Regions from separate parts of the Homo sapiens genome. Here region 1 is linked to region 2. The links are contacts of gene promoters, found by promoter capture Hi-C in human tissues and cell types (Jung and others, 2019). All regions are on one chromosome and are shown on one strand. The core of a region is centred on a gene start or on the middle of the fragment in contact, and the rest is flanking DNA. Distances in the headings are between cores, read along the strand shown. Region 1 overlaps SHE (Src homology 2 domain containing E). Region 2 holds the start of DCST2 (DC-STAMP domain containing 2).

The links. Contacts are between HindIII fragments. The study calls those that stand out against the background at their distance.
Region 1: a fragment that was not itself captured here is called in contact with the fragment with the promoter of DCST2 in region 2 in 3 of the 25 tissues and cell types used here (dorsolateral prefrontal cortex, lymphoblastoid cells and spleen).

The regions. Positions count from the first base shown.
Region 1 is chr1:154,477,115-154,482,251 of GRCh38, forward strand. SHE (Src homology 2 domain containing E) reads right to left here. Exons shown (of 6, transcript NM_001010846.3): 6 at 2,367-5,137. Among named protein-coding and RNA genes, the nearest start is that of TDRD10, 23 kb to the right of the region's middle. The HindIII fragment of the contact is 4,086 bases long and covers 1,676-5,137 here.
Region 2 is chr1:155,031,935-155,036,725 of GRCh38, forward strand. DCST2 (DC-STAMP domain containing 2) reads right to left here and starts at 1,847. Exons shown (of 15, transcript NM_144622.3): 1 at 1,500-1,847; 2 at 1,160-1,330; 3 at 733-834. The coding sequence starts at 1,767. DCST1 (DC-STAMP domain containing 1) reads left to right here and starts at 1,890. Exons shown (of 17, transcript NM_152494.4): 1 at 1,890-1,920; 2 at 2,038-2,163; 3 at 2,501-2,626; 4 at 2,719-2,793. The coding sequence starts at 2,103. The HindIII fragment of the contact is 8,066 bases long and covers 1-4,442 here.

The DNA of each region.
Region 1 (5,137 bases), core at 2,469-4,968, 550 kb before region 2:
TGCCTAGGCCCATGGACACAACTTGCCAGACCCAGCAGAGGATTGTCCTGGAGGTGGAGATGGATACCGAAAACCCAATTCCTTTTTCCCTTGCTCTGAGTCCATGTGCCCCTCTATGGGTAGAGAGCACATTGATCACACAGGTGACCTGAATGTCCAGTCTGCTAGATGCATTTCCATTGTAAGATAATAGACTGGCATTTTTGTGTGTGTGGTAAGAAATGCATTAACATAAAATTTACCATCTTAACCACCTATTTTAATTTTTTTTATAAGAGATGGGGTTTCACCACGTTGCCCGGGCTGGTCTCGAACTCCTTCGCTCAAGTGATCCGCCTACTTTGGCCTCCCAAAGCCCTGGGATTACAGGCATAAGCCACTACACTTGGCCTATGTTAACCATTTCTAAGTGTGCAGTTCAGCAGTGTTAACTACATTCATATTGTTGTGCACCCAATCTCCAGGACTTTTCATTATCTCATGCAGAAACTCTGGGCTGGGAATGGTGGGTCATGCCTATAATCTCAGCACTTTGGGAGGCCAAGGCTGGTGGATCACATGAGGTCAGGAGTTTGAGACCAGCCTGGCCAACATGGTGAAACCCCGTTTCTACTAACAATACAAAAATTAGCTGGGTGTTGTGGCGCATGCCTGTAGTCCCAGCTACTTGGGAGGCTGAGGCAGGAGAATTGCTGGAACCTGGGAGGTGGAGGTTGCAGTGAGTTGAGATTGCACCACTGCACTCCAGCCTGGGCGACAGAGCAAGACACTGTCTCAAAAAAAAAAAAAAAAAAAGAAAGAAAAGAAAAGAAAACTCTGCACTCATTAAACAACTCCCCATTTCCTCCTTCCCCAGCCCCTGGCAACTACCATTCTACTTTCTATGAATTTGACTACTCTGGGTACCTCATGTAAGTGGAATCATACAGTATTTGTCTTTTTGTGACTGACGGGTTTCACTCAGCGTAATGGTCTGTGTCAGGATTCCCTTCCTTGTTGAGGCTGAATGATACTCTGCTGTATTGCCAGCGTCAGTTATGGGAGTAGCAAGATAATGAAGCACACCCTGCCCAGTGGCTTCCAGAAGTTCCTGGTCTACAAGGTCAAGGAGCCGGAATGAAGCGCTGCTGATGTGCAACAAATTATACTGAGCTGAGATTGCTCACAATGTTTCCTCCAGAACCACAAGGCCACTGTGGAGCGAGCAGCCCCGTGGGCCATCAGTCACCACTCCCAAGGCCAGGCTGTGCAGCGAAGAAAATGAACAGACAACTCAGTCTATGTTTTGTTTTTAAATGAAATCATAAAAAGTGCAAAAAAAAAAAAAAAAAAAACACTCTAGAGTGAGACCTGGGCCGCAATCTGGGCTCTACCACTTACTATGACTGACCCAAGACAAGTTATTTCATCATTCTAAGCACCCGTGTTTTTATCTGAAAAACAAGGTTCCCACCTGGCTGAGTTGTGGCAGATTAAATGAGATGCTGTATGATGAAAAGCATTTGTTCAGCAGCACACCTGGTGCGGAAAAAGAGTCTATTCTCACTACTTACATCTTGGCCTTTCACAGGGTCAGAATCCAACATTCAACACTCAAACCCTGGGTGCTTGTAAACACGTGTTCAATCTGAATTCTGAAAACCATTACTCTAATTGCTCGGGTGGTGGGTGGCGGGAGCATTTCTTAATGCAAACTTCCTCTTCTCTTAAACACAGATGGGTTAAAACAATAGGCACTTGTTCCACCTGGTGGCAACTTACATAAATGTTTAATGGAAGTTAAAAACTTGAAACCATGTTAGGAATTTTGGAGGGGAAAACTTTTTGATAGCAGACTCAACAGTATGCCCTTCTAGGACCTGACGTGAATTTATTTGTGCATTTCCAAATAGGAGCTTCCAACAGGGCTTCTCCACCATTGGCTGTGTATCCAAATCACCTGGTACAATTTTTTTTTAAAATAGGTTTTTGAACTTTGCAACAGACTTAGGGCATCCCACAGATGGCATGGGACATTTGTATTAATAACAAACTGATAAAAACAGAAGCAGAGCCCAAATCTTCTATCTAGTGAGGGATGAGAACCAGTGCACTAACTTTCGACTCAGGAAGAGATGGGCCAGGAAATGGCAGTAAAACATCACTGTATTACTATTTTACTTGGGAAGAAAAACATAATAGAAGGACTCTAAATGTGAACAGAGTAAATAAAAGATAGAATCTGCTGGTTATGTTCCATCATGGTGTTTCTATATTTCATTAATGGTGACTGCAAATGAAACTCTGCTGTAGCTCTTACCATGGGAAGTATTTTTCTGAAGGAAGATGATTCTCAGAGCTAACTGAATTAAGCAAAACCACTGTAGTTTTCTTGGAATAATGTTTATTTAAAGTTACATTTCAGAGGAAACTATCTTCAGGAGGGCATGAAGCCTATATTGGCTACTGCAAAACAACCAGAAGTTTTATAAAATATTTCTGATTTAAATTACTAAGGCACTATAGATAGACACCTATATTACATACAATCTTCAAACATTTTTAAAAGTTGAAACTATGTATTAGTTGATATCTAAAATATTAAAGCCCCTGACAAACTGAACGGCTAAGAACTTGACAAAATGAGACGCCTGTTTCAATGATTCTGTTGCCAGCATATTAATTAAAATACAATTTGAGATTCTAAATTACACGATCCAGCCTTAGTCCAGGGACCTTGTGATGATAGTTGTATTAGACTTCAAAACACCCTTTCCGCAGGAAAGGGCATTTTTCAAGATGGCAACTGCTGTGTCATCATTTTCCCTTTTCTGGACTGTATCAGAAATCCTTCAGAAAGCCCTACCCTTAAATGCACAGCTGCTTTTCCCAACTGCAGTTTTCTCTTTTCCCATTAGATGGCAGTAACGCACCATCTCTCTTCACACAGGGTCAGCGGTGGAGGGTAAGTTGAACAGAAGGCCCACTGCACAGCAGGCCAAGTTTCTCTAGTCCACGTTAGTGGGGCACAAAAATTGGAAATGAGAATACAGAAGAGTGATTCTAACCAGGTCATAAGGCCAAACTAGTGCTAGTTATGGAAAAATAGGAGACAACTAGTGAACGAGAGATCTGTGAAGGGTTTCAGTGCAATCCTGCTGAGTGTCAAGGGGTGCGGGGAAGGGAAATGAAATCGACATCACTGCACTCCCTAAACCCTGGAAGGAGGGAGAAACAAGGGGCTAACCTTTGACTGAAAAAGGGCATCTGACAGAACAGAAACTAACCCCACTTAACCCGCAACTGAAGAATGCCTCACAGTTATTCTTCTGAATATCAAGATGCATCCAGTAACAACAGCCAATAACAGACTAGTAACAGAGTTACATAATCCAATTAACAAATTAGGACAATTTCCCACCACCTGCCTCAAAAACTCCTGGCTGCCCCTATCAGCTACCTGCCCACCTCCCCATCCTGCGGCAGAGGCTAGTACACAAATACCAATTCTGCAAAGTACGGAGACTTCCAACAGCAAAGAATAAAGGCTTTCTAAAATGCTTAAGAAAGTGCTTTGAATAACTTAAAATGACACTTCTGCCCCCAACAGAGAGTAGATATATCAATATTTACCTTTTTGTATACATATTAACACTTCTCCATTATTTTATTCCTAGCTTAAATACACACAAGGCCAGTGGTTTGCAGGCCATCCTGAGATACAACTATGGTATCAAAGTAAATAGCAAGGTCCTTTACTCTCTCTTCTTATAGGCCTGAAACTAACCAACTGAACTTGTCCAGTCATCGCAAGCAAGTATTTTTTTTAAAGAAGGTGTGATCAAGAAGAACACTGACACAGCTCTATGGATGCTAAATTCAAGGCAAATTCACTGAAAGACATTCTTCTCACCAGAGAATATCCTGGGAGATGGAATAACTCGAAGGAATGAGGACTACAGGAAAATACTTGTCTCAAGACAAAATGACAAAAAGCCAGAGCATTCAGAGCTCAGAGAACATGTCACAGAGCTTCAGATCAGCTGGCCATGGAGGTTTAACAAGGAAGCCATTAGGGACACCCTGCTGGGCCTAATTGTTTTTAGAACATATGGAACTTTGTGCCACCACACAGCTGTGAACTCCCTGGCTTTTGTCAGCTTGTGTCACAACCTCAAGAAGAAAATAGCTCACTAACGCCCCCACCTCTGACTTCCCACTAATTTACTATATTTCTTCTTATAACCTCCTGTACAACTGTAAAGCAACTGGACAATATGTAAACTCTGCCTCTCCTCTACTTTTAATTCTATAAAGAATATAGTATGACTTGTCACAGAGAAACAGTATAGAAGAAGCATAATACTGGGCATATGACAGAAGCTCAATAAATACTTAATGTATCTGGCCTGTTTTCAAGATGTTATTTCATTATACATTCATCACAGTTGCTGGGTATGGGCCAAAAATCATTTAGTGCACAAAGAAAAATTGTATAAAGCTTTTAGCATTTATTAAAATTAGAATAACTGCTGTATTCCCTTTGTAGAATAAGGTTAAGTAAAAACGTTTCATTTCTAGAATGTTAAACTAAAAATAAGTTTAACACAATGAATAATTTGTATAAAGATAATAAATATTTGTTGAATGGATGCTGAAAAAACCTTTTAAAATCTTACACTAAAGATATAGTAAATGAACCAATACACACTGAAAACATTCTATCAGTATCTGAAAAAAACATTCCTTTTGGTTTTTTGTTTGCTTGCTTGTTGAGACAGGGTCTCACTCTGTCACTCAGGCTGGAGTGCAATGGTGCGATCATGGCTCGCTGCAGCCTTGACCTGAGCAGAGGTGATCCACCTACCTCAGCCTCCCGAATAGCTGGAACCACAGGCATCCACCACCAGGCCAGGCTTTTTTTTTTTTTTTTTTTTGAGATGGAGTTTCGCTCTTGTCACCCAGGATGGAGTGCAGTGACATAATCTTGGCTCACTGCAACCTCCACCTCCTGGGCTCAAGTGATTCTCGTGCCTCAGCCTCCCAAGCAGCTGGAACTACAGGTGCCCGCCACCGTGCCCAGCTAATTTTTGTATTTTTACTACAGACAGGGTTTCACCATGTTGGCCAGGCTGGTCTCAAACTCCTGACCTCACGT
Region 2 (4,791 bases), core at 597-3,096:
AAAACCCTGGACAGGGTACAGGTGAGGAGACTGAATTTTTTTGTTTCTGTTTGTTTGTTTTGTTTTGTTTTGTTTTGAGATGGAGTTTCGCTCTTGTTGCCCAGGCTAGAGTGCAGTGGAGTGATCTCGGCTCATTGCAACCTCCGCCTCCTGGGTTCAAGAGATTCTCCTGCCTCAGCCTCCTGAGTAGCTGGGACTACAGCTGCGTGCCACCACGCCCGGCTAACTTTTTGTATTTTTAGTAGAGACGGGGTTTCACGATGTCAGCCAGGATGGTCTTGATCTCCTGACCTCCTGATCCACCGCCTCAGCCTCCCAAAGTGCTGGGATTACAGGTGTGAGCCACCGCACCTGGCCCCCCCGCTTTTTTTTTTCTTTAGAGATGGAGTCTCACACTGTCACCCAGGCTGGATTGGAGTACAGTGGCACGATCATAGCTCACTGCAGCCTCAAACCCCTGGGTTCAAGAGATCCTTCCACCATAGCCTCCCCAGTAGCTGGGACTACAGACATGTGTCATTACATCTGGCTAGTTTTATTTATTTTCTATTTTTTTATTTTTTATAGAGACAGGGTCTCGCCATGTTGCCAAGGCTGGTCTCAAACTCCTGGGCTCAAGTGATTCTCCCACCTCGGCCTCGCAAAGTGCTGGGATTACAGGCATGAGCCACCGCACCCGGCCAGGACTGGGTGCATTTTGAGTCCCCGGGATAGACATGCTAATGTGCTTACCTATGTGTTTCACACCATCCATGATTGACCGAAAGAACTTGCGGACCCGGTCAGCCACCTCTTTGGTCTTCCGGGCAATAGCTTTAATCTTGTTCAGGGCACCTGATGGGTGAGGGACAGAGGCACTTTGGAGTCTTCTCCTCTAGGGGCTGGTTCTCACCATTGCCCCTTAAGCAGGGAGTAGAGAGGAGGCCACCATTTCCAGAGGCGGGAAGCCTGGATTCTGGGGCCTGGGAGATCGTTAATCTGGGAGTGGAGGAGGCCAGAGAGCAAGGAGAGAGGGTTTAGCTGTGCCCAGAGTCCCTTCCAGGCCCAGATGCTCCGCGATTAGCACCAGCAGAGAAGGAGGCCAAAGGACTGTAGAACATGCAGGATGAGGGGGGCGAGGGGGGCCCGTGGGAGACAGTGGTAGAGGTGGGGGACTTACTGACAAGAGGTTGCTTGGCCCTCTGTAGCACTTCGGCGGTCTGGTTCAGGGCCAGCTCTGCCCCACAGGCTACAGCCTCGCTGGCCCGGGTGAAGTTGCGTAGAGTGTTGGCACAAGGCCCTTGAAGCACCAACCCAAAAGCAGCCACCAACAGTAGTGTCCGGCCCTGCCCTGGGGGCGACAGCTTTGTTAGAACCAAGACCCCAGCCCCAAACATGGCAGCAAGTCCCTTACATAAGCCTTCAGAATATTTCCCTTAACCCCTGCCTCTCCTCCAGCATCTCTTCTGCCCCAGCACCAGCCCCAGGACCTGCCCCCTAGCCCTGGGTGCCAAGCTCACTGGAGAAGGCCTGAGGCAGCAGCAGGAGGACAGTGGCTCGGACCTGGCGAGAGAATCCCATGCCCAGGCTAAGGAAGGCAGCCAAAGTGAGGGTGCCCACCAGGCAACCCCAGGGGCTGTGGCCTTCCACCAGTAGCTCCAGAAGCCCGTAGGCCGTGGCTAAAGACAAGCCCAGGGTAAAACCTCCCACGCTGCGAACCACAGCTCTCGCCATGCTAGGCTCCTCTCCCCCCAAGGGGTGCACAACATCCTTCATGACTTTGGGCATGGCTGCTGAGACCAAATGTCTGCCTGTCTCCAGGAGATGCCCGCTGACTTCTGTGCTCCTGGAATTTCTCACCGTATTCTAAGGTTCCAAAGGGCTTTCACTGCATATGTCTTGGAATCCTTGACCCAGTTCCGAGGACTGGAGAGGGGATAGGTAGGTCTCTAATCTCCTTCCCCACTTCTCGGAGCAGAAGGATTAAAAGGCCCAGAGCTCAGGCCTAGGCTTCCCATGAAGCGGAAGAGACAGGCAGCACCTCTCTTCTCTCACCAGAACCTTGTGTCCAAGGAGGTCCTTCAGGAGACCTGGGATGAGTGGTGCTTCCCCAAAACAGACTCATGGACATTAAACATCATCAGAATGGCACAAGAGGGCAAAGAAGAAAACAGCCTCATACCAGTGAGTCACTCAGCAGAGACCCAGTATCCCTTGACCTCCACTCTCATCCCATCTCTCCTCCTGGAACTCCTGCACACTATCCCCCAACTCGGTGTCCGCGCCTCCACCACCTCTCTGGTCTAGTGCCTCCCGCCTCCCAGCCCAGCCCTTGCCTTTGCTGTCCCTTACACCCATACCACTTCCTCAGGCTCCCTCATCCTCCTCCAGGGTCCCCTAAGTTCCTACTGTTTCACATGCCAGGTTTCCCCAGCCTCTATCCACCTGCAAGCCCTGAATCCTAATGAGCCCCATCCCAGGCAGAAGAGTGGGCTGTTGAGCTACCCTGTCCCCCTCTTAGCGGTGCAGAGGCTCCTGACCTGGGGGCTGCCAGTCTCCTGTAGCTGGTTCCTGTGGCGCCAGCCGGGCGAGTTTCCTGTCACTGCTCTCCTGCTGGGGGCAGGCGCTGGGGGGCTCCTGGCCATAGGTGAGTGTGGAAGCAGAAAGTTCGGGGTGGGCAGAGGCTGGACCAGGGCTAGGACCCATCTTTTGGCCTTTGGCTTGACCTTGTGCCCTTAGGTCTCTTTCAGCTCCTGGTGAACCCCATGAACATCTACGAAGAACAGAAGATTATGTTCTTGTACAGCTTGGTGGGTTAGTGCTGGGCAAAAGCCAGGAACACTCAAGCGGCCTGTGGAACACAGCGCCGTCCTGCATGCCCAGGAAGGAGTCGGGACTTGTTTCTTCTGTACCCATACATCCCCTGTGGCTTCCGCCTCCTCCTGGGCTTTACGGGGAGGTCCAGAGGGAAGAGGCTGCCAATTTAAGAAGGAAGACACCGTCCTTGCCCTGAGGGAGTCTCTCCATTCCGAGGGACTCCCCATCACCCACATGATATAGTCCAACCCCATAACCCTTCATAACTCTCATCTCTCCTGACCTGTCTGACCTCGTTTTCTGATCCTCCTAAGAAATTAAATTCATTCATTCATTCATTCATTCACTCAGCACTTACTGAGAATCTGCTGAGGATTTAGCAGTAAACAAGGATGACAAGCATCCAGCCGTTTTGCTTTGGTTTTGTTTGTATGTTTTTGTTTTCGTTTTGAGACGGAGTCTCGCTCTGTTGCCCAGGCTGGAGTGCAGTGGCTCAATCTCAGCTCACTGCAACCTCCACCTCCCAGGTTCAAGCCATTCTCCTGCTCAGCCTCCCAAGTAGCTGGGATTACAGGCACCCATCACCATGCCCAGCTAATTTTTGTATTTTTAGTAGAGACGGGGTTTCTGTATGTTGGCCAGGCAGGTCTCGAACTTCTGACCTCAAAAGATCTACCTGCCTCGGCCTCCCAAAGTTCTGGGATTACAGGTGTAAGCCACCGTGCCCAGCCCAGTTTGGATAATTTAACAGCTCAGTAGCTTCGAGAAGGACTCAGGTTCCTTCTGTCTTTTCTCTGCCATCTTCAGTCTATTGACCACTTCTCTTCAGGTCACAAGATAGCTGCAGCAACTCTGGCATCACATCTTCATACAATAATATCAAAGATCAGAAAAAAATAAAAAAAGAGGAAGAAACAGGCCAGGCACAATGGCTCACGCCTGTAATCCCAGCACTTTGGGAGGCTGAGGCGGGTGGATCACCTGAGGTCAGGAGTTTGAGACCAGCCTGGCCAACATGGTGAAACCCTGTCTCCACTAAAAATACAAAAATTAGCCGGATGTGGTGGTGCACACCTGTAGTCCCAGCTTCTTGGGAGGCTGAGGCAGGAGGCTTGCTTGAACCCAGGAGGCAGAGATTGCAGTGAGTGGAGATCGTGCCACTGCACTCCAGCCTGGGTGACAAGAGCGAAAGGCCATCTCAAAAAAAAGAAAAGAATAGAAGTTCAATCCCAGGCCCAACTTCACTGTCTTGGGCTGTGCGATTTGAGGCCAGGGAAAAAGGAAAATGACCTAGGTGACAGAGTGAAACTCTGTCTCAAAAAAAAAAAAAAAAAAAAAAAAGGAAGAAACATCCTTTCCTCATGTCTCTTTTTAGGAACAAGGGAAACTTGCCTATAATCCCCACAGTAGACTTCCTCACATCTCTTTGGTCAGAACTGCGTGCAACACATGCCCTTTCCTGAACCTGTCCCAGGCAAGGGAAATAGAATTAGCATTTCATCACCTGTTTATTGAATTAATCCTGCTGGATACCAACAGGAGACTACTTTTTCTCTGACCCACTGTATTCAAACATGTTTTTTCCCATTGATAACCTTTCACACAGCCCCTTAGATTTCTGGTTGTATTTCTTTAGAAGACCTAGTCCTACTTCAACAATTAAGACTTATTTTTAGGGGTTAAAGAGGTCCAGTCCACTCTACATCAGACTTTTAACCTCATCCATTCTCAAGCATCTTCCCTCCTTATCTTGCCCTCCCCATCCCTTGCGCCCCCAGCTCAGGCCTGCTCCCTAGCATGGGGTCCTGCAATGGAGAAGGGGCGTGGCCTGCTCTTTCCCTTTTTTCCTCTACTTCCTTCCCTTTCTGGTTCTTCTGATGTCAGAAGGGAGATTAGAAGAATTAGAGGAAAAGGGACAAAAGTCTTAAGTCACTAATGCTATTATAATTCCACTGTGGATGCCTGCGTGTAGCAGGCACTCACACCCTGGCTGTC